Linked DNA regions of Homo sapiens: all the other regions are linked to region 1. Evidence: promoter capture Hi-C in 16 types of primary human blood cells and fetal thymus (Javierre and others, 2016). All regions are on one chromosome and are shown on one strand. Each heading gives the region's core, a stretch centred on a gene start or on the middle of the fragment in contact. The rest is flanking DNA. Distances are from core to core; before and after follow the strand shown.

Region 1 (3,217 bases), core at 489-2,988:
TAACTTTTGTTTTTTTGTTTTTTTTTTTTTTTGAGACGGAGTCTTGCTCTGTCGCCCAGGCTGGAGTGCAGTGGCATGATCTCGGCTCACTGCAAGCTCTGCCTCCTGGGTTCACGCCATTCTCCTGCCTCAGTCTCCTCAGTAGCTGGGACTACAGGCGCCCGCCACCTCGCCCGGCTAATTTTTTGTATTTTTAGTAGAGACGGGGTTTCACCGTGTTAGCCAGGATGGTCTCGATCTCCTGACCCCGTGATCTGCCCGCCTCGGCCTCCCAAAGTGCTGGGATTACAGGCGTGAGCCACCTCGCCCGGCCAATGCTAACTTTTTTTAGGTAACATCTTCTGTAGACTTTTAGACATTATCTCATTGAGTTCTCATAGACTCTGCAAGGTAAGTATTACTCCCATCCAGAACCAGACACCTGATTTGCAGGGTCCAGTGCAAACTAAAAAAAGCGTGGCCCCTTGTTCATACATGTATTAAGAATTTCAAGCCGGGCATGGTGGCTCAGGCCTGTAATCCCAGCACATTGGGAGGCCGAGGTGGGCGGATCACCTGAGCTCAGGAGTTCGAGACCAGACTGGCCAACGTGACGAAACTCTGTCTCTACTAAAAATAGAAAACTTAGCCGGGCGTGGTTGTGCACGCCTGTAGTCCCAGCTACTCCGGGGGCTGAGACAGGAGAATCGCTTGAACCCGGGAGGCGGAGGTTGCGGTGAGCTGAGATCGCCCCACTGCACTCCAGCCTGGGCGACAGAGCAAGACTCCATCTCAAAAGAAAAAAAAAAAAAATCAAAATGACAGCAGAGCATTAAATGAAGTGTAAGGCCATGTGTGACTGTACCAGTGTGAACCTATGAGGCCAGTCCCACCCCTATCTTACATCTAGGGAACAGGTACACAGAGATGAAGTAAATTCCCAAGGTTACTTTGTCAAGAGCTTGGAAAATATAAGAGTCAGAAGTCTAACAGGTTGAATCCCTATTAAACTCTCCCCAACTAAACTACGCCCCTCCCTGTTGAGCTGAATCTAATGAAAGCTTCCTAAATGTATTAACCACACACACGCACAATCTGCTATCAGTCACTTTCAGTAGTTCATCGCTGTAACATCTCAGGAGTTCAATGTTTCAACGTGTTCTGTAGATTACTGTGATAACGCGGCAAGCTGTCGTAAGACTTCTTGCTGCACATTTCTTTTTAAAATATTCTCCAGGAGTCTGATGAAAAATACAGACATACCTATGTTTAATGTCAATGGATGGAACTTATTTTAAAAAGTACTGTAATGGCAGAAGTTGTGACACAAAGTACTGCAGTGATGTTGTAACTCCAACACCTAAATATATTATCAAGCATTCGCGTTTTGTTTTGTTTTTTAAGTGACTACTAGATACTGTGATTCACTTAAGTGAAGCGAACTGAAGCCCGTGGTCAAGGAGAGACACCTGAAGGTGAAGGGACAAAGCGAGCAGGGTAAGAGCTCGAGCCCGACCCCTCTCAAAAAATATAGACCCGGAACGCGCGCCTGCGCAGAACGAATCCTCCCGCGCACAAGCCGGGCGGAAGAGCTGGGGCGGGCAGGGGCGGGAATAAGGTTGCTAGGAGAACGCGATGACGCTACGGGCTCGGCGCTCTTCTCCACCAATGGGCGACGCGTACTTGCAGTGGCGCGCTGTGTGCGTCACGCCGACGACGCGCGAAGGGCACACATCTTAGGACCCGGAGGACGTCCGGCCTCTGTGAGCCGCAACCTTTCCAAGGGAGTGGTTGTGTGATCGCCATCTTAGGGAGTGAGTGTGGCCGGGCCTTCTCCTGTGGCGGGTGTGGGGAGCGGAGCCCAGAGCTCCTGTGGGGCCGCTGCTTTGGCGGTGGGCCCAGCCGGGAGCAGCCTCTTTCGAAGGCCGCCGTGACCTCTTCAAGGGCGTGGAGACGGGAAGGAAAAGGCCCCGGTTGGGGTTCCAGGGCGCCGGTAACGTTAACCGGCGCCTTGCCTGTCCTCTAACCGTCGCTCCCTCCTCCCCTAGAAAGATGTTCTCGTCCGTGGCGCACCTGGCGCGGGCGAACCCCTTCAACACGCCACATCTGCAGCTGGTGCACGATGGTCTCGGGGACCTCCGCAGCAGCTCCCCAGGGCCCACGGGCCAGCCCCGCCGCCCTCGCAACCTGGCAGCCGCCGCCGTGGAAGGTGAGATCAGACCCTGCCCAATACAGTCGTGTGGTCTACTTGTGGGCCGCCCAGCCTTTGAGGCCTGGACCCGGCTTGGAGGACAGGGAAGGACGAGTCCAGCCCGCTGCACCGTAGGACGGCGCCCAGTTGCTTGCCCTGGGGTATCGGCCTTTTCCACCATAGGCGGGTGTCAGATCCTTGGCCTTCCCTCAAGGGCGTGGAAGCGCTGAGGCCCTGTGTCCCTTCGTGACCTCCGTGTGCCCGAGGGAAGAGAGGCCGTGACTAGCTCTTTCTCCGCCGTGAGCTCGCTTGGTCAGCAAACTAAGTACTGGGTAAACTCTCCTCCCGAAACTACTGACCACCCACAGTTCTACTAACTATATTACCTGTCCTTTGATTTGCCCTTAGTTTTCTTAAAAATAGTCCTTTCCTAAGTTTTATATTTGTCGACGCCAGGTCAGTCATTTTTGCACTTAATTGTATATGAGATAACTAGATGTCCTGTTTTCGTGCGACTGGAGGAGGCAGCTTGCAGCCCTACATAGGCAATAGAAAGGAGATAATTGGTGGGCGTCCCTTTGGTGTGATTATCTCTTGGGATTCTTGGTGGTTGGGCCCAGCTTTAACTTAGTTGTGTGTGTTTTAAATCCTAGTGAAGTATGTACATACAGAGAAACCTGAAAACCGAATTGTAGGAGTCCTAAGAATGTTATCTACCTTGTGCCTGTAAAATCGAAAGATTTTTTTCTTTAAATCATTCATGTGCTTCTGTTGTCTTTAGTATGGATAGAGTCCTTATTTACACTATCTGTCGTTCAGTTTAAAAGTTAAAGCTAACATTATTTGTGTATTAAATGTATTTGACTGCAGGAATTTGTGCGTATCCGTTTTTATGTTACAGGAGTTCTTAAGTGGGGATAGTATTGGTTAGTGGCTGGGATAAACTTTGAAGTTGTTTGCAAGCCTTTTACATGTCGAGTGATCTTTCTGAGTTTCGTTTGTACTCTGAAGTGTGCTCTTACCAGTGGTTAATAATTTGAAGTTTGA
Region 2 (3,277 bases), core at 560-3,059, about 11 Mb after region 1:
TTAATACAACAGAATAACATATAGTATTGAAAATAAAAATTTATAGCTATGTGCGTCAAAACTGTTGAATTTCAAAAGCATAATGTTGAATGAAGAAAATCCAATTTGAAGAATAAATTCCGCATGATTCCATTTATGTCGAGTTCACAAACAGGCTAATACAAACTATTAGGATGATATACATGTGGCAAGCTCCAGAGAAGAGCTAGGCAGTGTAAACAACTATTCTGAATTATGTATTTACCTCTGGAGAGGAAGAAGGGAATATTGTTAACAAGGGATGTGCCCGCAGTATGGTATTGATAGTGTTTTTTTCTTTTTCTTTTTTTTTTTTTTTTTTGAGACAGTCTTACTCTGTCACCCAGGCTGGAGTGCAGTGGTGCGATCTTGGCTCACTGCAAGCTCCGCCTCCCGGGTTCATGCCATTCTCCTGCCTCAGCCTCCCGAGTAGCTGGGACTACAGGTGCCCGCCACCACGCCCGGCTAATTTTTTTTTTTTTTTGTATTTTTAGTAGAGACGGGGTTTCACCATGTTAGCCAAGATGGTCTCGATCTCCTGACCTTGTGATCTGCCTGCCTCAGCCTCCCAAAGTGCTGGGACTACAGGCGTGAGCCACCGCGCCCGGCAGTTATTGATAGTGTTCTGTGTCTTAGGCTAGGTGAAGGGCACACAGGCATTTGTTTAATTATTATCATTTTTAAGTGTTCAGATATTTTATATATACTTTTATATATTTACCATATATCTTCCTGCAAAAGGAAGAAACACATTGGTGTGACTGTGCGTATATGTTTAGGGGGAGAAATCTGCGCTTTTCATTTTATAGTCTTGTGTATTTTTTTATGACTGTGTTCGTTGTTTCCACTAAAATCAAGGAAAAAGAAAAAAGCTGTATTCTGTCACTTTTTTCTGTCATGCTTCCTCAGAATCTCTCATATAATAGTAAGCCTTGATTGTTATAATTTTGAGCCTTTCTTTTTTTTCTAATGTACAACATTTTTGCAAAAAGTTGGAGTGGAAATGTAATGAACTCAGACACTGGACGGTTGCCTTTTGTTTCAGCTTCCCACATCACAAACTTTGAGGTTGATCAATCTGTGTTTGAAATTCCCGAATCTTACTATGTTCAAGACAATGGCAGAAATGTGCATTTGCAAGATGAAGATTACGAGATAATGCAGTTTGCCATCCAGCAAAGTCTGCTGGAGTCCAGCAGGAGCCAGGTGTGTTTATCAGAATACTCTAATGGCAGGGCGTGGGAGGTCTTACCCTCTGGGTTAGCCTCAGTGTTTGGCTAATCTGAAAGATTTATTCTAAATATCAAGTTTGACACATTCATGGTATTTGCATAGGTTATACTTTGTGCATCTGGTCTTCTTACAAAAGCTTGTTATGTAAGAGACCATCTACATAATCCCAGTCAGCACCATTCACAAGATGTCTTCAGGCAGACTTTCCTTTTCCTCATATTCACGCACATAGCTTGTAATTCTGTACTTTTTGAGATGTGCTTCATCATTTTCTAGCACTGAAGCAGTATCATATTTTTCCTGAAGGATTACCTGTGTGTCAGTAGTCTCGGATGAAGGTAGTGAAGTGGATTTGAATCCCACTTCCTCCACAAAGGGTACCATCTCCCTAAACTCTCTCTGGGTCTCTAGTGAAACAGAAAATGAAGGACAGGACAGACCTGTGTAAGCAGTAGGCTTTGTGTGTGTGTGTGTGACTCTATGTTGCCCAAGTCGGAGTGCAGTGGCTGTTCCCCGGCATGATCATATTGCACCCTCAAACTCCTGGGTTCAAGAGATCCTCCCACCTCAGCCTCCCAAGTAGCTGGGACTAAAGTCATGCACCACTGTGCCCAGTAGAACAGTTGCCTTTTATTGTCATATCTGGTTCTCCCTCCATGCCTCACCTACCTGGGACAGTCCAAGGCTTGAGGTCCTCCTCCCCTAACATCAACTCCTTCCATCTCCTTCCTTCTGTGCCTCCTGGCTCTACTAGGGTAGGGTCTGGTCTGCCTCCAGCACCCTCTGGTGTGTCCTGGGTTCCTGCAGTCCATTTATTTGTTAATTGGCTTTTTCTTCCATTCTTCATTCAGATATTTGCAGAGTACCTTCTTTGTGCCAGGCTCTGTGCCAGGTGCTGGGAATTCTCTGGGAAGCAGCCCCTGCCCTCACAGGGCTGCTGCTTTGAGAACAGTGCTCACACTCCAGCGTCCTCACTGGTTCAAGCTTATAGCTTTCTGGTTCTATTCCTGAGTCTTAGTGCTTGTGTAATGTGAGTCTACCTCCTCCACTTCCCCCTGCCACCACCATGGCCCCATTCCCAGACCCATTCAGTTTTCCGAGCCAGACCCCAAAGCAAGCATGTTCCCTTTGGGAGGCATCCTGGGAGAAGACCCCTGCACATCACCATCAGCCTGGTATGCTTTTCCTTTCCCTATGTAAGTGAGCTTAGCTCCCCCCGCCAGCTCCCAAGTAGCTTCATAAACCTTGTTGACCATAAGTTTTAACAAGGGAAGTAGCCAAAGTCAAAGACTACCAGTATTGAATTGTGTCTTCTAATCTTGCCCTAGAAGAATTACTGGCTGGGTGCAGTGGCTCATGCCTATAATCCCAGCACTTTGGGAAGCCAAGATGGGAGGACTGATTGAGCCCAGGAGTCTGAGACCAGCCTGGGCAACATAGTGAGATCCTATATCTACCAAATTTTTTTTTTTTTTTAATTTTTGAGGCAGAGTCTCACTCTTTTGCTCAGGCTGCAGTGCAGGGGCACAATATTGGCTCACTGCAGCCTCTGCCTCCCAGGTTCAAGTGATTCTCATGCCTCACCCTCCCGAGTAGCTGGGATTACAGGTGCGCACCACCAGACCCAGCTAGTTTTTGTGTTTTTAGTAGAGACGGGGTTTTACCATGTTGTCCAGGCTGATCCCAAACTCCAGACCTCAAGTGATCCACCAGCCTTGCCCTCCCAAAGTGCTGGGATTAGAGGTGTGAGCCACCATGCCTAGCCTCTACCAAAAAATTTTAAAAGCCAAGTATGGTGGTGTGCACCTGTATTCCCAACTAGTCAGGAGGCTTAGGTGGGAGGATTTCTTGTGCCCTGGGGTCAAGGCTGCAGTGAGCTACGATCACATCACTACCCTTGAGCCTGGACAACAGAGTGCGACCCTGTCTCTAAAAAAACAAAAACCTGCTTTGGTCACTTGAACTTTGCCCAAGGTCAGCTGTGTTTTTGCTTTTCGTTGTGTATATCTTCCACGTGGGTTAGCTG
Region 3 (3,388 bases), core at 806-3,305, about 13 Mb after region 1:
CTTTTTTTTTTTTTTTTGAGTCGGAGTCTCACATTTGCCTGATTGCAACTGAGGTTGCGCCCTTTTTTTTTTTTTGAGTCGGAGTCTCACTCTGTCACCCAGGCTAGAGTGCAGTGCTGTGATCTCGGCTCACTGTAACCTCTGTCTCCCTGGTTCAAGCTATTCTCCTTCCTCAGCCTCTCGAGTAGCTGGGACTACAGGTGTGCACCACCACACCTAGCTAATTTTTTATATGTTTTTAGTAGAGATGGGGTTTCACCATGTTGGCCAGGCTGGTCTTGAACTCCTGACCTGAAGTGACTTGCCTGCCTCAGGGTTCCAAAGTGCTGGGATTATAGGCACAAGCCACTGCATCTGGCCTTTTTTTTTTTTTTTTTCAGAGAGCATCTTGCTGTATGGCCCAGGCTGTCAGGCTGGTCTCGAACTCCTAGTCTAAAGTGATTCTCCCGCCTCCTGAGTAGTGAGCCTTTTTTTTTTTTTTTAATATTATTGGTCATTCAGTTTTTCCGTGAATTGCTCACTTTTCTTGTTGATTTTCAGTAAACCTTTTTTTTTTTGAGACAGACTTTTGCTCTTGTTGCCCAAGCTGGAATGTAATGGTGCAATCTTGGCTCACCACAACTTCTGCCTCCCAGGTTCAAGCGATTCTCCTGCCTCAGCCTCCTGAGTAGCTGGGATTACAGGCATGCACCACCACCCCTGGCTAATTTTGTATTTTTAGTAGAGACGGAGTTTCTCCACGTTGGTCAGGCTGCTCTCGAACTCCCTACCTTAGGTGATTGCCCGCCTTGGCCTCCCAAAATGCTGGGATTACAGGCATGAGCCACTGCGCCCGGCCGGTCATAACCGTTTATCTGTTACATGATTTGCAAATATTTTCTCCCTTTTATGCCTTGTCTTTTGATTTTATTGATAATGCTTTTAGCTGTACCAAAGTTTTCTTTTTCTTCCTTTCTTTTTGAAACGGAATTTTACTCTGCCACTCAGGCTAAAGTGCAGTGGAGTGACCTCGGCTCACTGCAACCTCTGCCTCCCAGGCTCAAGCTATCCTCCCACCTCAGCCTCACAGGTAGCTGCACTATAGGCTCGCACCACCACACCTGGCTAATTTTTGTATTTTTTGTAGAGATGGGTTTTCACCATGTTGCCCAGGCTGGCCTTGAACTTGGGAGCATAAACAATCTGCCCACCTCTGCCTCTGCCTCCCAAAGTGCTGGGATTTTAGCCATGAGTCACCACGCCCAGCCTTCTATATTATTTTCTAAGTTTTAGAATTTTGTTTTTCTGACTTGGATATTTACTGTATTGGGAATTTGTTTTGTGATGGCCTGAAAGATGATTTAACTTAATTTCTATTCCATATTGAAACCTAGTTATGCCAACCCCATTTATTGAATAGTCACTGCTAAAAGAGCATAAAATACAGATAAAATTTCCTGCTGCCACCTCGACCCTTTCCCAGTTGGTTCCAGACTTAAGTGGTTATCATTGTGAAAAGTTTCTTGTTTATTTTTGAAAAATTGCCCGTGTGTGTTGGGGGTGGGTGTGGGGGGCATATACAAATTGGATCATATGCTGTAGACTGTTCCATAGCTTTTTTTTGACTCAGTATGATATTTTGCCATCTTTTTCATATCAGTTGGCATATGTCTAGGATCTAGTTTGGAGGTTAGTAAACTTTTTCTATAAAGGGCTAGACATGGTGGATGTGATGGCTTATGGCTACGATCCCAGCACTTTGGGAGGCCGAGGTGGGAGACTGTTTGAGGCCAGGAGTTTGAGACTAGCCTGGGCAACATAGTGAGATCCCCATTTCTACAAAAAATAAAAAAATTAGCTGGGCATGGTAGCACGCACCTGTAATCCCAGCTACTCAGGAGGCTAAGGCAGAAGGATCACTTGATCCTGGGAGCTTGAGGCTGCAGTGGGCCATGACTGTGCCACAGCTCCCCAGCCTGGGCAACAGCAAGACCCCATCTTAAAAAACAAAAATAAAGAAGGGCTAGATAGGCTTTGTGAGCCATACTCTCAGTCACAACTATTCACTTCTACCATTGCAGCAAGAAAGCAATAATAGACAATAGTAAACAAGTGTGGTTGTGTTCCAATAAGACTTTATTTACGAAAATAGGTAGAGCCAGGCATGCTGGTGTGTGCCTGTAGTTCCAGCTACTAGGGAGGCTGAGGTGAAGGTTCATTTGAGCCCAGGAGTTTGAGGCCAGCCTGGGCAACACAGCAAGACCCCATCTCTTAAAAAAATAGATAGGAGACAGATTTGGCCCCAAGCCATATTTTGCTGACCTTTGGGCAAGTTTATATGTTTTAACATCTGTGTGGTATTCCGTTATATGAATATATCATAATTGATGTAATAAACACCTTATTAGTATACATTTAACTTTTCTAGTTCTTTTTATTATGAGCAATTCTGCACAAACAACCTTGTACATAACCTTTGCTTACTTTCATAAATATATATGGAAGAAATTTCTGAAAGTAGAATTACTACGTCAAATGTATGTGCATTTCAGATTTTGACAGAAATTATCAAATTGCTGTCTGCAGAGGTTGTGCTTGTTTACGCTCCCGTCAACAGCATATGATGGTGCCGGTTTCCTCACATGCTTGCCAACTCCGAGACTGTGAAAAATGCTATATGCTTTAGCTCTAAAATTAAAGTATTTTTTGGATTGAGTTTTAAAAGTCTTGTTATTTTCAAAGGACATATACCAGATTGTTAACATTAGTTATTTCTGAAAGAAGATAGGACTGCTTGTCCTTTTACTTTCCTTCCTTCCTTCCTTCCTCTTCTTTTTTTTTTTTTTTTTTTTTTTTTAAGACATGGGGTCTTGCTCTATGTCCCTAGGCTGCAGTGCGGTGGCACCATCATAGCTCATTGCAGCCTCAAACTCCTGGGCTTAAGCGATCCTTCCACCTCAGTTTCCCGAGTAGCTAGAATTACAGGTGCAACCCATCACGCCAAGCTAATTTTTAAATTTTTTCTAGAGACAGGGTTTAATCATGTGGCCCAGGCTGGTATCAGACTCCTAGCCTCAAGCGATCCTCCCATTTTGGCCTCCCAAAGTGCCGGGATTATAGGTGTGAGCTACTGCACCCAGCCTACTTTCTTTTGCATAGTTTTCTATGAAATATATTGTCTGAAAAATTTTCAATGCACAGACACTACTTTATCAGAAAAAAACAACAAAGGTGTTTTAATTCCAAAACAAAAGCTATATGTAAAGTGTATTTTGTCTTAGATATATAATTATGAATGTTGTATGTATATATTTGCCCCCAGCATCTGTATTATAGACAGAAAAAGCAACTGTGGATGAGGAGAAACAGTCCTTGCACAAATGTTCCCAGTATTCTACAGATGCTGATG

Evidence for each region. Contacts are between HindIII fragments. The CHiCAGO score rates a contact against its expected background, and 5 or more counts as called.
Region 2: a fragment that was not itself captured here is called in contact with the fragment with the promoter of SLC25A3 in region 1 in 1 of 17 cell types (neutrophils); the score reaches 9.2 in neutrophils.
Region 3: a fragment that was not itself captured here is called in contact with the fragment with the promoter of SLC25A3 in region 1 in 1 of 17 cell types (neutrophils); the score reaches 8.5 in neutrophils.

Annotation. Positions count from the first base shown.
Region 1 is chr12:98,591,948-98,595,164 of GRCh38, forward strand. SLC25A3 (solute carrier family 25 member 3) reads left to right here and starts at 1,739. Exons shown (of 8, transcript NM_002635.4): 1 at 1,739-1,793; 2 at 2,028-2,188. The coding sequence starts at 2,032. RefSeq lists enhancers at 1,261-1,480, 1,529-2,153, 1,731-1,830, 2,154-2,778. The HindIII fragment of the contact is 3,126 bases long and covers 1,039-3,217 here.
Region 2 is chr12:110,032,734-110,036,010 of GRCh38, forward strand. ANKRD13A (ankyrin repeat domain 13A) reads left to right here. Exons shown (of 15, transcript NM_033121.2): 13 at 1,064-1,224. Among named protein-coding and RNA genes, the nearest start is that of C12orf76, 14 kb to the right of the region's middle. The HindIII fragment of the contact is 848 bases long and covers 1,386-2,233 here.
Region 3 is chr12:111,697,938-111,701,325 of GRCh38, forward strand. All of the region lies in intron 2 of ACAD10 (acyl-CoA dehydrogenase family member 10), which reads left to right. Among named protein-coding and RNA genes, the nearest start is that of ACAD10, 14 kb to the left of the region's middle. The HindIII fragment of the contact is 6,707 bases long and covers 1-3,388 here.